Linked DNA regions of Homo sapiens: regions 1, 2, 3, 5, 6 and 7 are each linked to region 4. The links are contacts of gene promoters, found by promoter capture Hi-C in blood cells and fetal thymus (Javierre and others, 2016). All regions are on one chromosome and are shown on one strand. Each heading gives the region's core, a stretch centred on a gene start or on the middle of the fragment in contact. The rest is flanking DNA. Distances are from core to core; before and after follow the strand shown. Region 1 has its middle 10 kb from the start of LINC00523. Region 2 has its middle 26 kb from the start of MIR2392. Region 3 has its middle 4.7 kb from the start of DLK1. Region 4 holds the start of DIO3OS (DIO3 opposite strand upstream RNA). Region 5 has its middle 27 kb from the start of DLK1. Region 6 has its middle 28 kb from the start of DLK1. Region 7 overlaps LINC00523 (long intergenic non-protein coding RNA 523).

Evidence for each region. Contacts are between HindIII fragments. The CHiCAGO score rates a contact against its expected background, and 5 or more counts as called.
Region 1: a contact is called between a fragment that was not itself captured here and the fragment with the promoter of DIO3OS in region 4, in 1 of 17 cell types (endothelial precursors). The highest score is 5.2, in endothelial precursors.
Region 2: a contact is called between a fragment that was not itself captured here and the fragment with the promoter of DIO3OS in region 4, in 1 of 17 cell types (M1 macrophages). The highest score is 5.2, in M1 macrophages.
Region 3: a contact is called between a fragment that was not itself captured here and the fragment with the promoter of DIO3OS in region 4, in 2 of 17 cell types (naive CD4 T cells and M1 macrophages). The highest score is 6.0, in naive CD4 T cells.
Region 5: a fragment that was not itself captured here is called in contact with the fragment with the promoter of DIO3OS in region 4 in 2 of 17 cell types (M1 macrophages and naive B cells); the score reaches 6.6 in M1 macrophages.
Region 6: a contact is called between a fragment that was not itself captured here and the fragment with the promoter of DIO3OS in region 4, in 8 of 17 cell types (M1 macrophages, M2 macrophages, naive CD8 T cells and 5 more). The highest score is 8.6, in M1 macrophages.
Region 7: a fragment that was not itself captured here is called in contact with the fragment with the promoter of DIO3OS in region 4 in 1 of 17 cell types (M1 macrophages); the score reaches 5.1 in M1 macrophages.

Annotation. Positions count from the first base shown.
Region 1 is chr14:100,645,790-100,648,489 of GRCh38, reverse strand. No RefSeq gene overlaps it. Among named protein-coding and RNA genes, the nearest start is that of LINC00523, 10 kb to the left of the region's middle. The HindIII fragment of the contact is 2,606 bases long and covers 1-2,565 here.
Region 2 is chr14:100,787,323-100,790,022 of GRCh38, reverse strand. No RefSeq gene overlaps it. Among named protein-coding and RNA genes, the nearest start is that of MIR2392, 26 kb to the left of the region's middle. The HindIII fragment of the contact is 2,004 bases long and covers 345-2,348 here.
Region 3 is chr14:100,720,862-100,723,567 of GRCh38, reverse strand. No RefSeq gene overlaps it. Among named protein-coding and RNA genes, the nearest start is that of DLK1, 4.7 kb to the left of the region's middle. The HindIII fragment of the contact is 460 bases long and covers 1,090-1,549 here.
Region 4 is chr14:101,558,975-101,561,674 of GRCh38, reverse strand. DIO3OS (DIO3 opposite strand upstream RNA) reads left to right here and starts at 1,253. Exons shown (of 2, transcript NR_152588.1): 1 at 1,253-1,423. It overlaps DIO3 (iodothyronine deiodinase 3), which reads right to left and starts at 180. Exons shown (of 1, transcript NM_001362.4): 1 at 1-180. The coding sequence starts at 178. It overlaps MIR1247 (microRNA 1247), which reads left to right and starts at 1,253; the gene lies at 1,253-1,388. The HindIII fragment of the contact is 17,616 bases long and covers 1-2,700 here.
Region 5 is chr14:100,698,387-100,701,086 of GRCh38, reverse strand. No RefSeq gene overlaps it. Among named protein-coding and RNA genes, the nearest start is that of DLK1, 27 kb to the left of the region's middle. The HindIII fragment of the contact is 1,508 bases long and covers 533-2,040 here.
Region 6 is chr14:100,753,685-100,756,384 of GRCh38, reverse strand. No RefSeq gene overlaps it. Among named protein-coding and RNA genes, the nearest start is that of DLK1, 28 kb to the right of the region's middle. RefSeq lists an enhancer at 50-1,249. The HindIII fragment of the contact is 709 bases long and covers 1,069-1,777 here.
Region 7 is chr14:100,664,411-100,667,110 of GRCh38, reverse strand. The region is part of intron 1 of LINC00523 (long intergenic non-protein coding RNA 523); the gene reads right to left. Among named protein-coding and RNA genes, the nearest start is that of LINC00523, 8.5 kb to the right of the region's middle. RefSeq lists an enhancer at 12-513. The HindIII fragment of the contact is 5,308 bases long and covers 1-2,700 here.

The DNA.
Region 1 (2,700 bases), core at 13-2,512, 910 kb after region 4:
GCTTTGAAGCCCAACACAAATTCATAAACTTTCCTAAGACATTATGAGATTTTTTTTTTTTTTGCAATTTTTTTTAGTACATCAGCAATGGTTAGTGTTAGTGCATTTTATGTGTGGCCCAAAACAGTTCTTCTTCCAATGTGGCTCAGGGAAACCAAAAGATTGGACACCCCTGGTTTAGATGGTTGACTAATCTCTCCTGTTGTCTTAATGAATAGATCCTGGCTTCTGTTGAGATGGCCAACCCATACTTATCTCTTTTTTTTTTTTTTTTTTTTTTTTTTTTTTTTTTTTTGAGATGGAGTTTCTCTCCTGTCACCAAGGCTGGGGTGCAATGGTACAATCTTGGCTCACTGCAACCTCTGCCTCCTGGGTTCAAGTGATTCTCCTGCCTCAGCCTCCTGAGTAGCTGGGACTACAGGCATGTGCCACTACGTCTGGCAAATTTTTGTATTTTTAGTAGAGACAGGATTTCGCCATGTTGGCTGGGCTGATCTCGAACTCCTGACCTCAGGTGATCCACCTGCCTTGGCCTCCCAAAGTGCTGGGATTACAGGTATGAGCCACCGTGCCCAGCCCATACTTATCTATTTATCAGTCATTTAGCCACATCCTTGTTCTCTCTCCAATATGTTTTGTCATTTTTTCCAATATGGATAGGCTGAAAATTTTCCAACTGTTTAAGTTCTGCTTCTCTTTTGATTGACAATTCTGTCTTTGAATCATTTCTGTTTTCTCACTTTTTACTATAAGCAGTCAAGAGACACCAGGCTACACCTTCAACACTTTGCTTAGAAATTTCCTCTATCAAATATCCAATTTCATTGCTCACAGGCTCTACCTTCCGCAAAACACTAGAACATGAACACAATTCAGCCAAGTTCTTTGTACTTTGTAACAAGGGTGGCCTTTCCTTCCTTGTCCAATGATACATTTCACCTTCTGTCTGAGTTCATCGGAATGGCCTGTGCCATCCATATTTCTACCAACCTTCTGTTAATGACTGCTTAGGTATTCTCTAAGAAGCTGGAGGCTTTTTCTGCAGCTCTGCTCCTCCCCGTCTGGGCCCTCACTAGAATTCACCTTATGATCCACTCACAGCAATGCAGGTTTTTCCTAGAATGCACCTCAAAACTCTTGGCAGTCTGTACCCATTACCCAGTTTCAAAGCCACTTCCACATTTTTAGGTATGTGTTACAGCAGCACCTCTACTTCTCCATAACAATTTTCTGTCTTAGCCCATCTTGGCTGCTATAACAAAATACCATAAACTAAGTGTCTTATAAATAACAGAAATGTATTTCCCATTGCTCTAGAGGCTGATAAGTACAAGATCAAGGGACTGGCAGATTTGGTGTTTGGTAAAGATCTGATTCCTCCTAGACAACATCTTCTTGCTGTATCCTCACGTGGTGGGAGTGGGAAACTAGCTCTCCGGATTTCATTTGTAAGGGCACTAATACCCGTGAGGAGCGCTCACCTCTCAAAGGCCCCACCTCCTAATACCATCACCTAGTAGGGGTTTTGGATTTTAAAGTATGGATTTTGCAAACATTCAGATCCTAGCAAATGGTTAATGGAAAAGTACAGCAACCAAAAACGTGCATGGTGACAGAGGACTCACAGCCTTCATGAAGGGAGACTAGGCTCACTCCACTAGTTAGAGGCCAGCTGAGGTTCTGGCTAAGGACAGGGGAAGTGTAGAATGGGTAGTTGAAGAAGGAAGCCATTGATATCAATTCTAACCTCACAACTACCTTACAGAAATGAGTCCCATAGTAGCTATTTTCTACTTGTTTGTTTTATGTACATACTTATCTGTAGAGGCTAATCATTTTTTTTGAAACAGGGCCTCACTTTGTTGCCCAGGCTGGAGTGCAGTGGCGTGATTACCGCTCACTACAGCCTCAACCTCCCAGGCTCAAGTGATCCTCCCACCTCAGCCTCCCAAGTAGCTGGGACCACAGGCAAGTACCCACCATGCCTGGCTAATTTTTTAAACTTTATGTAGAGGTGGGGTCTTCTTATGTTGCCCAGGCTGGGCTTGAACTCCTGGGCTCAAGTGATCCACCTGGTCCAGCCTCCCAAAGTGCTGGGATTACAGGCGTGAGCCACCACACCCAGCCTAGACTAATTATTTTCTTCCCCTCCTTTCCATTTTTATTTTATATCCAAACTGTTGGAAGTTAACTTCACAGTTTAGTGTGTAGGTAATAAAATATTTAGTGGAAATGCAAATGAATTTGAGGAGTAATTCACATAGTCAGTGACAGAAACACTGGCTGCTGGACTGCATGTCTCCTCGTTTCAGAGAGAGGGCAGAAACTGTCATGGGTAAGATCTGTAGCTGCATCTTGTTAGGTGGAGATATAAAGATGTTTTGCTGCTGTACAGGAGTCCAAATGTGTGTAGTACACATGGAAGGTGAGTAGCCAAAGGGGTGGACCGTGCCAGTTATCAATTTATTGTCTCCCAGCTCCGAATCTGCCCTGCATTGGCTGTTGTATTAAAAAATGAGCTGGTGCCTTTGTGATTTTCTTTGCCTGTCGACACCACATTAAGCTTTGTCAGCAGAGGGCGCTGGAGAGACAGGACAGGAGGCAGGGATTTTCCCTCCTGGTACTGGGCGGTGGCTGGGCAGACTCCTGCAGTGTGGGCGGCCTCTCCAGCAGTGCGGTGAACGCAGTTGGCAGCTTCCC
Region 2 (2,700 bases), core at 97-2,596, 770 kb after region 4:
TCCTATGCCCAGGCTACCTCCCTAGCAGACAGTCAAGGGTGGCACCAACATGAAGTGCCACGTCCCAACCTATGTTCAGGACCTGGTTTGGTTCCAGGCATCTGAGCACTTCCAACAGGTGGTAGGACCACCCAAATGTCCCCCAGCCACAAGTGGAGCAGGCGCCACTGGGAGGAGGACAGAGCCTGTGCAGACCGGAATGTTTAAGTGCCTGCAGTCTGGTTTCAGCTTTGCCTCCATGTGGGACCTACATTTATTGGTCTTTTTATTAATAACTGACCAGCACCAGGCTCAACAGCAACTCTGGTTTTTGCAGACTTCTTCCCATTCTTCAATCAGAAGCTTCAGGGGTGCAAGAGATCTTTAGGAGAAGTTTCCTGAGCCCCATGGTCTGCGGAGGTTTTCTTTCCATTTGAAACAAGTCTTTGAAGTCTGAACAATTCTCCTGGAGGGCTGCAGGCCTGGGAGTCAAAGCATTTCAGGGATTTGAGACCACGCACGGAAGGGAAGGCCACTCAGTCTTTCCTGAGCTCACGGCCCCTTCATCCATCTGGGATGAGGGCCTCCCCTGAGTACAGGCCACTCAGGCTCCTGACACCACCCTGCAGAAGTCCTCCGTGGCCACAGCTTTCTGGAGCTATGCTCAACCTCACTACAGAAACATCTGCATTCAAACCTGCCGTTAAATTTGAGGAGATGGCCTAATCCTGGATGTGCACCCCAAGCCCTACTTAAGAGGCCTCTGAATTCATCAGCCCCAGATATCCCTTAGACTTCAAAGCCATCCTCTGGATTCCAGGGGGCAGCCAAGAGGTTAGGGTGATGTAACATCTTGATGAGTTGGGAGGGGTGGCCGTCCCAGATCAAGTGATGCCTTCCAGGAACCAGGGACAGATTTTAGGCAGAGACCCACAGTACAGACATTCCCGGCCTTGCCCCGCCCTGTGCTAGGTGAGGACGGGGCTATGCCCTCCCTCCAGTGACCTGAGACATGCATGGAGCTCTGGACAGGAAGTCCTCCCCCAAACCCTCTCTCTTGCAGGCTGCTGGTCTCCCAGCACCATCACGGGAGGGCAGCTCTGTGTGCGCAAATACACGAACACCAAGGTGCTGCTTCATCTATGGGTTTTAAAGAGAATTTCAATATGATTTATCTTCCAATACAGGAACTTGGCAAGATCTGCTTGTTCCAGGATCGGGAGAGCCTCAGAGCAAGGTCTGGGTGGCCCTGCAGGGGGAGAGTCAGAGGACAGCGGGAGGTAGCCGGCTGGGGAGGCCTCTCCCCACAGATGGCAGGAAATGGGGACAGGCCGCCAGGCAGGATTGGCCCAGGCCTTGAGGCCACAGGGGGGCCCCACCTCCAGACGTGCCTGGCCTGGGTTTCCTGGCCTTTGGCGCTGGAAGGCCACACAAAGATGGTATTCATGGTGAGGCCTTAAATTCTCTCCGGAATGAGGCAGGGTTTAAATAAATACATAAGAAGGTTGGATCCTGGGCCAGACTGAGCTTGCACAGGGCGGTGGGTGCTGTGAAGGCCGAGAGAGAGAGAGGGTGCCCCTCCCATGCACACCCAACTTTGTGCAAAATTAGTAAAAAAATGTTTCTTCCATGTCAATTAATGGGGAACTCCCGTGCACCCCCATTCAGTGAGAGTCGTGAAGGATTTGTGTTTGCGGATAGCTCTAGGGGCTGACCATTTACTGGGTATTCTCCATGGGTCAGGCACAGACTGGATGTTACTCAAGACTATAAGGTGGGTAGTAGGTCCTGGGATTCACCCGTTTATTCCTTTACAAAGAGTGACTGGGCTGAGGGCACTATTAAGTATTGGGGTTGCTGGGATGAGAGGACTCCGAGACACACTCTGCTCTCATTCAAGTCACAGTGGGGACAAACAATTAGAAAAGGAGACACCGAGAGTCAGCCCCAGAGCCTAGCTCGTGCAGGCGTTGGGGTGAGTGAAACAGGTTCTCAGCTCTGCTTTGCAGATGGGGAAACTGAGGCAGAGACTTGCATTAGGAAATGGAAGCTAAGTGCTGCGTCCTGGAGGAGGTGCATTCTTGGGGCTTGCAGGGCTGCGGGAGGGGTGCTGAACCCTCCGCTGTCATGCGGGGCACTGCCTCCGGATCTTCACCCCGCTAAGCCAGCCCAAAACTGCAGGAAAGGCGTTAGAATGACCTTTGACTTCTGAATGGCGTAGTCCAGGGCCGGGGGCCCAGTGACTCTTTGCTTGAAGCAGAGTCTGTAGTTTTAAAGGCTCTGAGAATGGCAAGAGAGCAAAGATGGTGGGCCCGGCCCGGCAGGCGGCTGGCCATACCAGCTCCCTCTCCTAGGGCCTGGGGGAAGCTTTGCGATGGGGTCCGGCAACTGAAGAATTGCAAACATTCTTCCTGTCTCCCTTGATGGTTCTGGGTTCCAAAAGCCAGACGCTTCTAAAGAGAGAGGTTTTGGAAAAGCTAGGACACCCTGCAATCCTGCCACCCAGAAGGTCATGCCTCAGGGACGGGGAAGAAATGTGGGGGAAAGTTTTGGTCTCTTTTCGGGAGAGTTAGGAGATTTCCCCTTGGAAATGGGGTTTTGTTGACGAGTCCCCATCTCCCAAAACCTCAGGCACTTTACAGTTACCTCACTTGAAAGGGGTCTTTTAAGAAATGCATAAACCCCCAGTGGGGTCAACTCCGCCCAATGGGGTGATAAATG
Region 3 (2,706 bases), core at 70-2,569, 840 kb after region 4:
TGTCCGGAGGCAGTGTTGCTGGGCTTTGCCGGGGCAGCAGAGGAGCTGGTGATGAGCAAAAGTTTTCCGAGGGAAGGAAAGAAGTGTTGTCTCCAGCCCTTTTTCCTCCCCGCTCCTCTGCTCTCCCCTCCTGTCTGCTCCCCCTCCTCCTTTTCTAAACACTAACTCTTCCTCCAGCCAGCCCCAGACCACTTCGCCCCTGATTAAAGGCAGAAACACTGATCAGGGCAGCTCAGCTGGGTGGAGCTAGAGGGGCCTCTGAGACTTACTAGTCCCGGGCACCAGCGGGGATGGGAGGGCAAGAGCAGGGGTGGCCGGCGAGGGGGCTTCACCCCACCTTCACATTCTGCTCTGCTCACCACCCCCACAGCCTCGGTGGGGATCTCCATGCCTTGAGGCTTTGCTTCTGCCTAGACTAGGTTTTTTTTTTGGTTTTTTTTGTTTTTTTTTTTTGCCGGGGTGGGGGGATCTGAGCCCCCACTGATCCAGTCCTAGTGGGCATCCTACAGACAAGAGATGCCTTTGTCCCCTGTCCCCACACCCAACGTTCTCCATCCTCCCTCCAAGAGAGAAGGAGGGTGGGCTCCCCCAGATCTGCCTGCTCTTCCTCCCCAAGGGACTGACCAAGGCGAGGACCAGTGCCCAGAGACTCAGGTGGCCTAGTTAGAGTCCTAGAACCGGAACATCCAGGAGACAGCTGGGCAGGAGGCTCCCCCGCCAAGAAGCCACCATCCCTGTGTTGAGGGCTTACAGGCAAGCAGGCATTGCCCTTTCTGCATCTCCCTCACTTCTCCCTCGGATTTAGACTCTAATTTAACCCTGTCTCATCAGAGCCTCCTCACGGCCTGGGCTAGGTGGGGACTGCCCAGAGTCCACTGGGCAGTGGCTGAGCACACTGAGGCTGGGGGACCCCAAGAGAGGTGCATGGCTAACCAGTGGCAGAGCTGGAATTTGAACCCGGGTCTACTCAAAATCCCAGTGCAAGGCTCTCTGCCCAGCCCAGCGGGGTGGTTAGAGTGCATGGAGCCTGGAGGAAAGTGGGCTCCCCCAGAAGCCTGCCCTCCCCTCCTTGGGTGGGAGGGGGAAGCTTCACAACCTGGGAGGCTGTGAGGGTTTCATGCAAACACCAAGGAGACACGCAGCTGCCACCTCTCGGAGTATTTTTCCAAACCTGAAGCTCATCTTTGGAGACAAATTCTCTTTTCTTCTACCGAGGAGAGGGGACCTGGGGGCAGAGGGTGGAGGGAAATGAAAGACATAACCTGATACATTTTCCAGAACATGAAGGTTTGGTTTCAAGTTTAATCAGAGAAAAGGTCTTCAGTGTGAAGTGGCATCGTGCTCAGCCGAGCTGGGAGTACGGCTGCAGAGGGACACATGCTGAGCCTGGCCTTGTGCTTGGCGCCTGAAGAGGCGTATGACAGTTCCAGGCCCACTCCAGGGTTCTCCAGGGCGGCAGGGTGCTGTGGGTGGGGGCGCAGAGCCAGCCCGTATCCCCGAGTCCCCAAAACAGGCCTGCGTATCACTCCCCCAGGCCCCACAGCAAGCTTCTGGGAAGGAAAAATACCAGAGAGCTGGGGTGCAGAGGGGACTCATTGGTTTGGGTCTATATTTAGAGTTGGCTTCTGTGGGGTCTCACCTCTCCCCCAGACAGAACCAGTTTCTCGTCATTGCTGATAGGATTTAAAAACAGACTTCTCGTTTCCTTCCTTGCCATTGGAATCAACAGGGATGTAAGTCCACAATGTAATTGTCCACATCATCAATCACATGATCCTCTTACAGAGCACCACTGAGTCATGCTGTGCGTGGGGTGCTCCCAGGGGCTTGGAGGGGTTAATAACAACTCCCCACCCCACCCCAGAGCTTGTAGATAGACTCACTCCCACTCAGGAGGGAGGAAATCAGGGGCCGGAGGAAAAAGGGGCCTTTTCATCACTCAGCTTGTCCACGCAGGCTTTGGCCAAAAATGCAGGAATTCATTCATCAAAAATTCCCAGAAGTTAATTTTCCATAAAACAGAGGCTCACCTCTTTAAATGTAGCCTTTCATCTGCCTGGTATTGACTGAGCTCCTACTGGGTGCCGAGGCTCGGCGGGGTCCCTGGAAGGAGGGTGCAATGATGGATTTGAAGGTGGTTTCTCATCTCAGAGAGTTCAAGTGCGGACCCAGTGCTTAGACACCCTCTGAGATGCAGGGTTGTGGATACTGGGACTGGCCACACATGGGAAGGGCGATCATGCATCTCTCAGAGGGTTAGTCCTCAGCTGTGTGTGCAGAGTACACAGAAGTTCTCCAGGAGGGTATGGGGAGGCCCTTCCAGGCAGAGAGAGCTGTACAGGCACAGATGTGTGAACGAGACATGAGTGTGTGTATGCATGCACATGAGATGGCGAGGAAGTGTTGGCTGTTCTGTTAGTGAGGGCAAAGTTAGCATGGTGAAGAATGAGGCAGAATGTTGCAAAACTTTCAACATTTCGGACATAAATCTCTTAACTATTCTCCAACATTCTGCAGCCTCCTTTGCCCTGGCAAACAGTCCACGGAACAAGAAGCCCTCTTTTGTCATACCAGAGTCAACCTTCGCACATGTCATGCCCAGACTTGATGCTAAGTCTTGGGAATCAGGCTGGGCCACCCGACCCTTCCCATCCAGTGAGGCACCAGCCCCCACCACCTACCTCCCCAGTAGGGCCCAGCTCGTGG
Region 4 (2,700 bases), core at 4-2,503:
AGAGCATGAAGGCCGTGCCGAGGAAGCGCGGGAAGAGCACGAGGCACGAGGCGGTCTGGGCGCAGAGCCTCAAGGAGTGAAGCAGCAGGGAGCGGAGCATGGTGGCTGCAGGCCCCGAAGCCCCCTGGGACCCCTCGCCCTCTCCGACCACCAACCGCGACGTGGCCTGGCGAGGCATCTGGGCTTCAGCAGTGCAGGGAGTTCAATTTATAGCGGAGGCTTCAATTGGCGGGAGACTCCACCTCCGGCCCGGCCCGCCCCCTTGCAACTTGAGCCCGGAGGGATCACCCAGCAGCGCGGCCAATGCCCTAGAAATCTTGGGCTGAGGGCGGGCGCAGGCGGGCGGAGGGCGGAGCGGCCGGGCCTGGGGCCGGTGGGGGCGGGCCCGGGCCCCGCAGCCAGCTCTCGGGGGCGGGGGACTCCGGCAGCCGCTGCCGCTGGGGACCGGGAGCCCGACCAGGGACCTGGGCGTCCGCTGGGGAGGTCCTCCAGCTGGCGCGAGCGCTGCGCGCCGCCCTGGTCCCCGCCGCCTGGCTCCGGCCCGCGCCCCCCTCGCCGCGCACCTGAGCCGAGCTCCCCGGCGGCCGCCGAGCCGCGCCGGAGCTCCGGTTCGCTTCCCGCGCGCCGCCGCCAACGCCGCCCACGCCGCTGCCGCTCGTGCGGGGCCGCTGCCCAGGTGCCGCGGGAGGCCGGGTCCGCGGCCGCCGCTTCGGTGGCCCCGGCTCCCGCCCCACCGAGGACGCGGGCCAGCGAGGAGGCAACTTTGCGTTCCCGCCGCCTTCCTGGCTCGCCCGCGGGCGCCGCTCGCCTGCCGGAGCCCGCCCGCCCGCCTCCCGCGCGCGCTCACACTCGCGCCTCGCACACGGCCGCCCCCCGCACCGCCCCGCCACGCACACCGCGCTCCGCGCCCCCCGCCGCTGCCCGAGGCTGCCGCGCGCCGCCCCAGCCCGCGCCGCCCTGGCCGCGCCCGCCCCGTCCCATCTCGTTCCAGCGGGGCGCCGCGGTTCCTGGGTCAGCGGCCGCCGGGGCCGGGCTGAGAGGTGCGGAGGGCAGAGCCCGCGGGCGGGTTACCGCCGGGCGCCGGAGACCGGAGAGCTGGGGAAAGCGGCGCCGGCCCTGCGCCCCCAGCCGACCCGGGCGCGGGGCGCCACGGGCGTGGGGCGCGGGGCAGCGGGCGCGGGGCGGCGCCGGCCCCGGGCGGCTCTCCCACTAGGGGTAGCTGTTGCCTGAACGCCGGAGCGCTCCCCTCTCGCCGCTTGCCTCGCCCAGCGCAGCCCCGGCCGCTGGGCGCACCCGTCCCGTTCGTCCCCGGACGTTGCTCTCTACCCCGGGAACGTCGAGACTGGAGCGCCCGAACTGAGCCACCTTCGCGGACCCCGAGAGCGGCGGCGCGACTCACCGCGGAGGCGCCCGGACGCGTCAAGTGCGTACTTTCAACCGTAAATGGGTGCTGAGCGTTTAGGGGTGCGGGGCAACTCCCTAACTCGTGGGGCCCTGGCCGGCCCTGCCGCGGCGTCCGAGACCTTCTGATCCCTCGCTGCGCGCGGCGCGGGGTTGGCGACTTGGGCTCAGGGGCGGCGGGGCGGGGAGGTGCCTTGACCTAGGGACCCAGAGGCCGGGAGCAAGTCTCCTTTCGCCTTGGACTGCAGTGTCCCCCAGGGCAAGGCCTGAACCAGGTCGCGAGGGTCTGTCTCCCGTCTGGGGAGCTGAACTGCCCGAGACACTGTCGCAGTCGCGGGGACTTGTCTGGAGCGGCGGGGTCTGAGCCCAAGTCGGAAGCCGCCGCCGCCGCCAGCGTCCCGTGCGCCTGCCGCCCCGGGACCAGCCGCGAAACTTCTTCTCGGGACGGAGACAGCGCTCGCCGCCCGGGCCGAGGTAGGAGCTGGCTGGGCTCGGTAGAGCGCGGGCGAATCGCTTTCGGCAGCGAAGGAACGTGTCGGGAGAAGCCAACTGCAGGACCAGGGCCCCAGCGGGCGCGCAGAGACGCCTGCCTTGGGCGGAGGTCCCCCCCTCCGGTTTTCGTGGCTCTGGTAGGGCCCTCTGTCCCGTGAGCTCCTCACTGGACCTGAGGCTACAGGCTTCAGCAGGTCAAGCGCCCGAGTGTGCCTGGAGGATTGGCGGCGGGGTGGCATGAGAAGGTGGCCCCTCTTCTCCATCTCCCAGTCAGGCGATTTCTCTGCTGTCTGGGGCAGGGGCGCACACCCCAGGAACTTACTACGTAGAGGGAAGCCAGCCTGGTCTCTCCCCCTTGCGTCAGTGCTCCTAAGCTGCCCCTCACCACTCTGGGTAGGGGTCTTTCAGGTGGGCTAGGGAATTCTCCTTGGAAGTCCCCTTGTTTGCTCCCCTCCATCAGGGCACCTCTGAGTTAGCCAATCATCCTCTTTTCTGGCCTCTTTTTTGCGGGGAGGAGAGTAGAGAGAGAAGCCTCCTACTCGGCAGGTCTCTGAGAGGAGGTTTGGGGGGGCTTCTGAGGTTGCTCCTCCTGGGCAGAGTCAAGGGGTGTTGAGGGTTCCAACTTTTACTGGACAATCTCTCAAGCTCTGATTCCCTGATTTCTGGGAGGTGTCAGTGTAGGGCTTGTGTCCTGCCCCACCCACACAGCATTTGGTGCAGGCACATGGGATGGTTCCCCAAGCCCTTTTCCCACAGTTAGTTTCAGAAAATGCATAAGCCACCTAAGGCTGGGAGAGCCTTTCTGTG
Region 5 (2,700 bases), core at 37-2,536, 860 kb after region 4:
GAGACAGGGGCTCAGCCTGGTGTTTGCTGTCCCTTCTCAAGTTGTTCTTACTCGACAGTGCTTTCACCTGCCCCGGACAGAGCCCTAGCCCACGCTCTGCTTCTATCTCACACTACCATGACCCCCTCTTCCTGCTGGCCACTAGGAAGCTCAGTGCCCCTCCCTGTGGCCTGCCCACAGGGTCTGCACAGCTTCATGCTGGCCTCTGTGTGCCTCACCAGCTCCCTTCCCCCTGCCCGGTTTGCCCTCATCCCAGCCTCCCTCTACTTGCTATGTGGGTGTCACTAGATAAGCCACTTTAAAGCCATTCTGGAGCAGAGTGAAGGAAGAATAACATCAAGGCCTTCAACAGTGACATTGTGTGACAGCTGGATTTTTCTTCAATTTTTAAGGTATTAACACAGAAGGAAATCTGCGCGGTTCTGGGGCTTCGGGATTGACAGCCTGCAAGGGGATCCTGCAGGTGTATAGGCAGAGGGTATTGACCTGCCCGGCCCCTCATGAGGCCAAGGATGGATCTGAAGAACAAGCTTGGTCCAGAGCACTGCTCAGAACTATGTCACAAGCCACCAAGGCCATCTTCAGATCTGGGTGAAGGTGGAATGAATGAATGAATGATTGGATGAATGAATGAGACCTGAGCTTTCCCACTTCCAACCAGCACAGAGCCTCATGGCCTGGCTTTCACTAGGAGCGTGGATCCTCCTGGGGCTGCAAACTGGTAACCACAGAGCCCTTCTTGCCCTCCCGCAGCCCCCATCCACCTGCCTTGCTGTGGTGGAATGGGCAAGCCCTGCTCCCACTCCCTACCAGAACCTTGCCTGGGCTCCAATCCTAGTCCTTCCATCCACCAATGGTGTCACCTTGGGCAAACTTCTGTCAGCTGCCATTACAAATTTCCACATCTTGGTGGCTAAAAACAACAGAAATTTATTCTTTCATTGTTCCGGAGGCCACAAGTCCACAGCTCAGGTGTGGGCAGGGCCGTGCTCTCTCCAGAGGCTCTAGGGGAGGGTCCTCTCAGGCCTCTTGCAGCTTCTGGTCCTCCAGGTATTCGTTGGCTTGTGGCAGCCTCCTTCCAACCCCTGCCTCTGTCTCCACACAACCTGCGTCTCGTCTCTGTGTGTCAAAGGACACCTGCAAGGGACTAAATATCCAAAGGGACAGTGGCCATACCATTGAGGTTTGCTGTCCCTTTTCTTTTTTTTTTTTTTTTTTTTTTGAGACGGAGTCTCGCTCTGTCGCCCAGGCCGGACTGCGGACTGCAGTGGCGCAATCTCAGCTCACTGCAAGCTCCGCTTCCCGGGTTCACGCCATTCTCCTGCCTCAGCCTCCCGAGTAGCTGGGACTACAGGCACCCGCCACCGCGCCCGGCTAATTTTTTGTATTTTTAGTAGAGACGGGGTTTCACCTTGGTAGCCAGGATGGTCTCGATCTCCTGACCTCATGATCCACCCTCCTCGGCCTCCCAAAGTGCTGGGATTACAGGCGTGAGCCACCGCGCCCGGCCGCTGTCCCTTTTCAAGTAGTTCTTACCCAACAGTGCTCTTGCCTGCTCCCAGACAGACCCCAAGCCCACTCTCTGCTTCTATCTCACTCTGCCATGACCCCCTCTTCCCACTGGCCACCAGGAAGCTCAGTGCCCCTCCCACAGGGGTCTGTTCTGAAAACAGAACGCTGACCCACACCTGCAACAACCTGCCAGGAAACTGACCCCACATCCCCCATAAACAGTGGAGGAAGCCAGCCTGCAGTGAGCCAGGCTTGCAGGAGGCCCGATAGCCATCTCTAGTGACAATGCAGGAAGCTAAACCGTGGCTTCTGTGACAATTGGCCCCAAATGGCCAGGACTTGACTCCTAACTGACAGCTTCCTATTTTTGTCCCACTTCTGACTAACGGCCAACCAGAGAAAGCCAAATATGCACCCTAGCCCATCCCAGGTGATGCCCCGATGCTAGGTAGGCACCTCTGGCTCCCCCACACCAACAGCCTCCGGTCAGAGCACACCCAAAGCAGCTCCAGCTTTCCCTGCGAAGCTTCTCCGCTCCTCTTCCCACCTTTGAGTCTCTGCCCAACACAAGTAGTGGTAGCTGAGCCCAGTCTGCAGAAAGCTCTGGATAAATGGCCTCTGCTTCTCTCGTTTGAGCGGCCCTTGTTTATTTCCACACTTGTCACTGTATTTAGGGCCCTCCCAGATAATCCGGGATGATCTCAGCTTGAGATCCTTCACTTAATTTCATCTGCAAAAACCCTCTTTCCAAATAAGGTCACAGCCACAGATTCTGGGAATCAGGAGGTGGACGTGGCTTTTTGGGGCCACCATTCACCCACTACAGCAGGTACTTCGACACTTTTGGCCTCGGATCATAGGAGGACCTGCCCCACCTGGCTGCCCGGATGGTAAGTGAATACGTGCTTAGAAAGCCCTGGATCAGAACCTGGCAGGAGACACAGTGCACAGGTATCCATTACTGTTCATAGAGTGGGGAGGGGAGGCCCCGCAGTGAAGACATGAAAAAAACAAATCAGCAGAGCGCAAGGTTTCTTTTTGGTGATGGAAACGTTCTAAAATTAGATTGTGATAATGGTTGTACAATTCTGCAAATTCACTAAACACTATTGAATTAGATACTTAAAAGGAGTGATATTTATGATGTATAAACTCCATCTCTGTAAAAGCTGTTGAAAAAAACAAATT
Region 6 (2,700 bases), core at 174-2,673, 810 kb after region 4:
ACATTACAATATGCACTTTAATTTAAAATAATCTGTATGGGATTAAAACTAACTTTATTCCAATAAGATATAGAAATTTTGCTCCAATATATCTTCCTTCTTTTCTCATTTCTTTGTGCTAATACTGTCTTATAAAATGCATCTTGATATATTACAAGCCTAACAATACAGTTTTATAATTATTGCTTTATTCAGTTATGTTTTACATCAATTAAGAGAATAAACAAGTAAAAAAACATATTTATGCTAACATTTACATTTACCTTCACAAGTGCTCTTTATTTCTTCATGGAGATTCAAGTTATCGTATGATGTGATTTTCTTTAGCCTGAAGGACTTCCTTTAGCATTTTTTGTAAGGCAGGTCTGCTAGCAAAGAATCCTTCCCGTCTGTTTATCTTGGGATGTCCTTATTTTGCCTTCAGGTTTGAAAGATAATTTTGATGGATATAAATTCTTGATTGATTGGTTTCTTCTTTCAACACTTTGAATATCCTACTGCCTTCCAGCTTCCATTGTTTCTGAAGATAAATTAGCTGTAATCTGATTGTGGTTCTCTTATACATGATGAGTCATTTTACTGTTGTTCCCTTGAAGACTTTGTCTTTGATGACATATGTTATAGTCACAGTCTTTGCCTATGGTGTGTCTAGGTGTGGATTTCTTTGAGTTTATTCTATGCTATGATCTGAAGGTTTGTGTCACAAAATTTATATGCTGAAATTCATATGCTGAAATCCTAACCCCAATGGTAGTAGGAGGTGGGCCTTTTGTAGATTAAGCTATGAGGGCAGAGCCTTTGTGAATGGGATCAGTGTCCTTATAAAATAGGCCCAAGAGAGCTTCTTCACCCCTTCTGCCATGTGAGGACACAGTGAGAAGGCACCATCTGTGAACCAGAAAGCCAGCCCTCACAAGACACTGAATCTGCTGGCACCTTGATCTTAGACTTCCCAGTCTCTGGAACTGTAAGAAATAAATTTCTGTTGTATCTAAGCCACCTAGTTGATGGAATTTTGTTAAAGCAGTCCAAACAGACTAAGACATTCCACTTGGAGTTTGTTAAGCTTATTGTATTTACATACTAATATTTTTAAGCAAATTTGGGACATTTTCAGCTATTCTTTAAAAGAAAAAAAAAGGTTTTACCCCTTTCACTTGATGTTGTCCCACAGGTCTCTGAGAAGTGCTGTTCATTTTATTCTGTTCTTTTTTCTTTCTGTTCTTTAGACTAAATGGTTTCTATTGCTTGTCTTCAAGTTTGCTGAGTCCTTCTTCCTCTAGCTCAAACCTGCTGTCGAGCACCTCTAGTAAATTTTCATTTCAGGTATTATACTTTTCAATTCCAAAGTTTCTATATAGTTCTCATTAATACTTTGTATCTTTTTGTTGACTTTCTCTGTTGGTTAGACATTGTTGTCTCATACTTTACATTATTTCTTTGTTTTCTGTTTTTTGTTTTTTTTTTTGAAATAGGGTTTTGCTGTGTTCTCCAGCCTTGTCTCAAACTCCTGGCCTCAGGTGATCCTCCCACCTCAGCCTCCTGAGGAGCTAGGATTACAGGCATGTACCACCACACCCAGCTGCTTTAATTATTTAAACATAGATTCCTTTAGACCTTTGAACATGTTTATAGTAAATTATTTTAAGTCATTGTCTACCAAGTCCAATATCTGAGCTTGCTCAGAGATAGCTTGTATGCACTGCTTCTTTTCTGTGTATGACCACATTTTTCTATTTATTTGTATGTTTCACCATGTTTTTGGAAACTAGAAGCTTTGGATAAATATTATAACAAATCTGAGTTCTGATTTGTCTCCCCTAGAGGCTATTGCTGCATTTATTTGTGTGTTTAGTGACTTGCCTGGATAAATTATTTAGAGCCGGTCTCCCCTCCAGTGTGCAAACATGGAAATCTTATTTGTTTGTTTGCTTAATTCCTGCCTTCATTTTAAACCTTTTCTATAGATTAAGCATAATCTGGGTAAGCATCCTTAATAGGCAGCCAATGATTGGTCAGAGGTTTTGCTTAAACACCTTCAGCCAGTAAGATTTCTGCCCTTTGGTGTGGTGAGGCACACACTCAGAGGGCAGGCAGTTTACAAGTGTGCCCACCTTCACTTGCTGTTTGTGCAGGGCCTCGTGGTCAGCCAGGAACAAACAGATAACTGGGCCCTCTCCACTCTCTCCTGCACATTCCTACACCTTGGGCAAGTGCACAGCATTCCAGATTCTTAGAAATGTGTCAGGTTTATCAAAGCCCCTATGGTTGTCTTATTTCCCAGCTCTTTCTTGTAAATTTTTGGCTGGTTGCTGCTTTCCCAAGTCAGTGTCACAGACTTAGGTAGCTGTGACATTGGCCTTCTTTGATTGTCTGCTATAGAGATGGCCTCTGTTTTGACAGTGTTTCTGGACATTGTGCTTTTCTATGGAGCTCCAAATTAGATCAGCCCCCTCTAGCAGCAGCAAGACTTCTGGGTTTATGGTTGCCACACCACAGAGTTCAGAGAGAGGTGGGTGGGAGCAGCCCTGTGTTGAAATGGCACAGACCCCGCCACTGTCAACAAAGGCTCAGCTGTTTTTATTAAATAAATGTCTTTCCATTTGTTATTTGTCTTTGGTTAATGTCCAGAGTTCCGAAATGGTTGTTTTTGGCAATTTTGTCCAATTTTATCATTGTTCTTATAGGGACAGGATTTGC
Region 7 (2,700 bases), core at 196-2,695, 890 kb after region 4:
GGTAGGGCCAGGGGAGTGAAGGCTGAGGGCTGGGGGACTACCGCGGGTGTTCCGCTGAGGCGTCAGCTCTCTGCAGCCCCTCTCCAAGATGCCTGAGGTAGGCTTGGGAGGCATGAGGGCGACCTCAGCACTTTTCACCAGCTCCACCCACCTCACAACCCCCTGGACGCCTGGAGATGCAGGCCAAGACTGTCTGAGCTACTGGCATAGTCTGTACTTATCCCCCTGAATTCTTCCCTGTGTCTCATGAGAAGGAGAAGCACAGTCTCACATCTCCAAAGCCAGAATGATGAGGGGGTCCACTCTGTCCCTGAGCTCTTTTTCTTCTTTGTCAATAATATAAGGAGGGCACCAGCCTGTCTGACCCTAGAATCTATCACTCTGCAATGCCTGCCTGGATGGCTGCTGATCTTCACCCAGAAAGCCAAGGCTGTTGAGATAACAGTACCAACTCAAAGAGAAAGGAAAGCACGGGATCGCTGTAGCAAGGGGCCAGGCAGCATTCTAGTCCTTGGATGGGGATCCATGGGGGAGGTGTCCCTGGGCACAGCACATTCCTTCCCTGTGCAATGGAAATCCCTGCCCCCAGGTGAACACAGTGGGAAGGGCTGGAGAGTGGAGAGCAGGGACTCGGCCAGGCTGGCTCTGACCCACTCAGTCCTCTCTCACCTGCTCTGTCTGTCTGGATCCCATTGAGTGCTCAAGTCACTAAAGCACTACCGTTTACAGTCATTTGCTAAATGGATGGTCCACACCTGGGCAGTTTGTCCCAAACCCTGAGGCAGGGTTCATCCTGCTGTTCCTGAACAAGAACTTCCAAGGCTGGTCTGGGGGAATAGAATCTTCTAAAGTTTTCCAGGTGATTTTCCACAGTCAATGAGAAGACCTGGGTAAGGGTCCATGAGCCTACACGCTACCAAAAGCGCCTGGGAAAGCGCAAGGGGGAAAGCCCAGGTGTTAGGTTCCGAAGGCGCTGGGGAAGCCAGGCTGCCCCGAGAACGTCCCCCTCTGAGAGATTTTAGGTGAGTCACCTCTCTGGGACTTCAAGAGCCAGCCCAGTAGCACCCTCCTCTGGGATGGAACCATTGGTCTTTCTCCCGCCTTCCTTCTGTCTTTGCCCCGACACTGCCACCAAGGCACTCGGCACAGTGAGTGTTGCTTCCCATGGAGTGTGAGCCACCGACTGCCACCACCACCAGCTCATGCCTCTTCTGTGCCAGATGAGTCAACTGCCTTAAGTAATTCTCACAGCAACCACCTGCCATTCTGCCCACTTTCCTGGTCAGTAAACAGTGCCTCACACAGAGTTGCAGCCTGGCTGAGTTGCAGCTCAGCTCCACAGACTCAGAAGCAAGTCAGCTTTTGATCACGGAACCTCCTGGAAGGCAGAGTCCCCGGACTTCGCCCTCCCGCCCTCCCTCTCTTCCTCTTGCAAACAGTTGTTCAAGGTCTGCTGTGTGCCAGGCATTGTCCCGGATGCCAGGGCTGTGAAGACACATCAGAACGGCCTGCCAGGGGAGACAGATGCTGGGGCAAATGCTCCCAGGGCAGGGTGGCAGGAGCTGGAACCGAAGGGAATTCAGGATGCCATTTAGACTACAGGGTCACAAGGAGGAAAAGGATGTCTCTTTGGGGGTGGGGTATGGAGAGACGCCACAGACAAGGCAGAAAGTCTTTGTTTTCCTGGGGCCCCCAGCACACAGCAGGAATGGCTAAAAGCCTAGAGGACACAGCAGAGCTTCCAGCCTGTTTCTTGCTCGTCTCAGTCATTGAAACTCCTCAATTTCATGATTGTACCAGCCCACATCTGTTTATGCGCTCATCGGAATCCGCGCTGACAATGTATTTGTTTAATTTCCAGCAAGAAGGGGAAGATTTGTCAGGGTCAGGGATACGTCTTGCATAAAACATTCTGATTAAACTCTGTTGGCCAGAGAATTACTTTCCCATCATACTTAGAGAAATCTAGTTGTTTCCTAATTGGAGTCGCTGCCTCGCCAGCGTGTTCACCATTTACAGTTCACTCTCTGCCAGATGTTGCTTGATTGTAAATTCCTCCCCAGAAGGGGGCCCCAGGTGTCTTGGGAGAGGTGCTAACTGGCACAGGCCATGGGAGGCCTCTGCATGCTGAGCTGGAGGAGAGCCAGTGTCCTAACTGGAGGCCGGGAAGAGAACGTCCTTGTCTACAGTGGCCGAGGGGGGTGGTTATTAAAAAACATGGGACCAGGGCCAGGTGCGGTGGCTCATGCCTGTAACCCCAGCACTTTGGGAGGCCGAGGCTGGTGGATCACAAGGTCAGGAGTTCGAGACCAGCCTGGCCAGTATGGTGAAACCCTGTCTCTACTAAAAACACAAAAAAATTAGCCGGGCATAGTGGCACACACCTGTAATCCCAGCTACTCAGGAGGCTGAGGCAGGAGAATCGCTTGAACAAGGGAGGTGGAGGTTGCAGTGAGCCGAGATCAAGCCACTGCACTCCAGCCTGGGTGACAGAGCAAGGCTCTGTCTCAAAAAAACTAAAACAAAAAAACCATGGAACCAGCAGAGTGTCTCAGCATCATCAGCTGTCTGATAGGTGAGAGCCCACTTGGAGCCAGAGATGGGGAGGGCTATTGTGCTAGCTTGCTGAGGGCTGAGTCGGTCCTTGGCCTTGACAGAAGGGGCCGGCAGAGGGGCACTGCAGGAAGCCAGCAAGCAGGA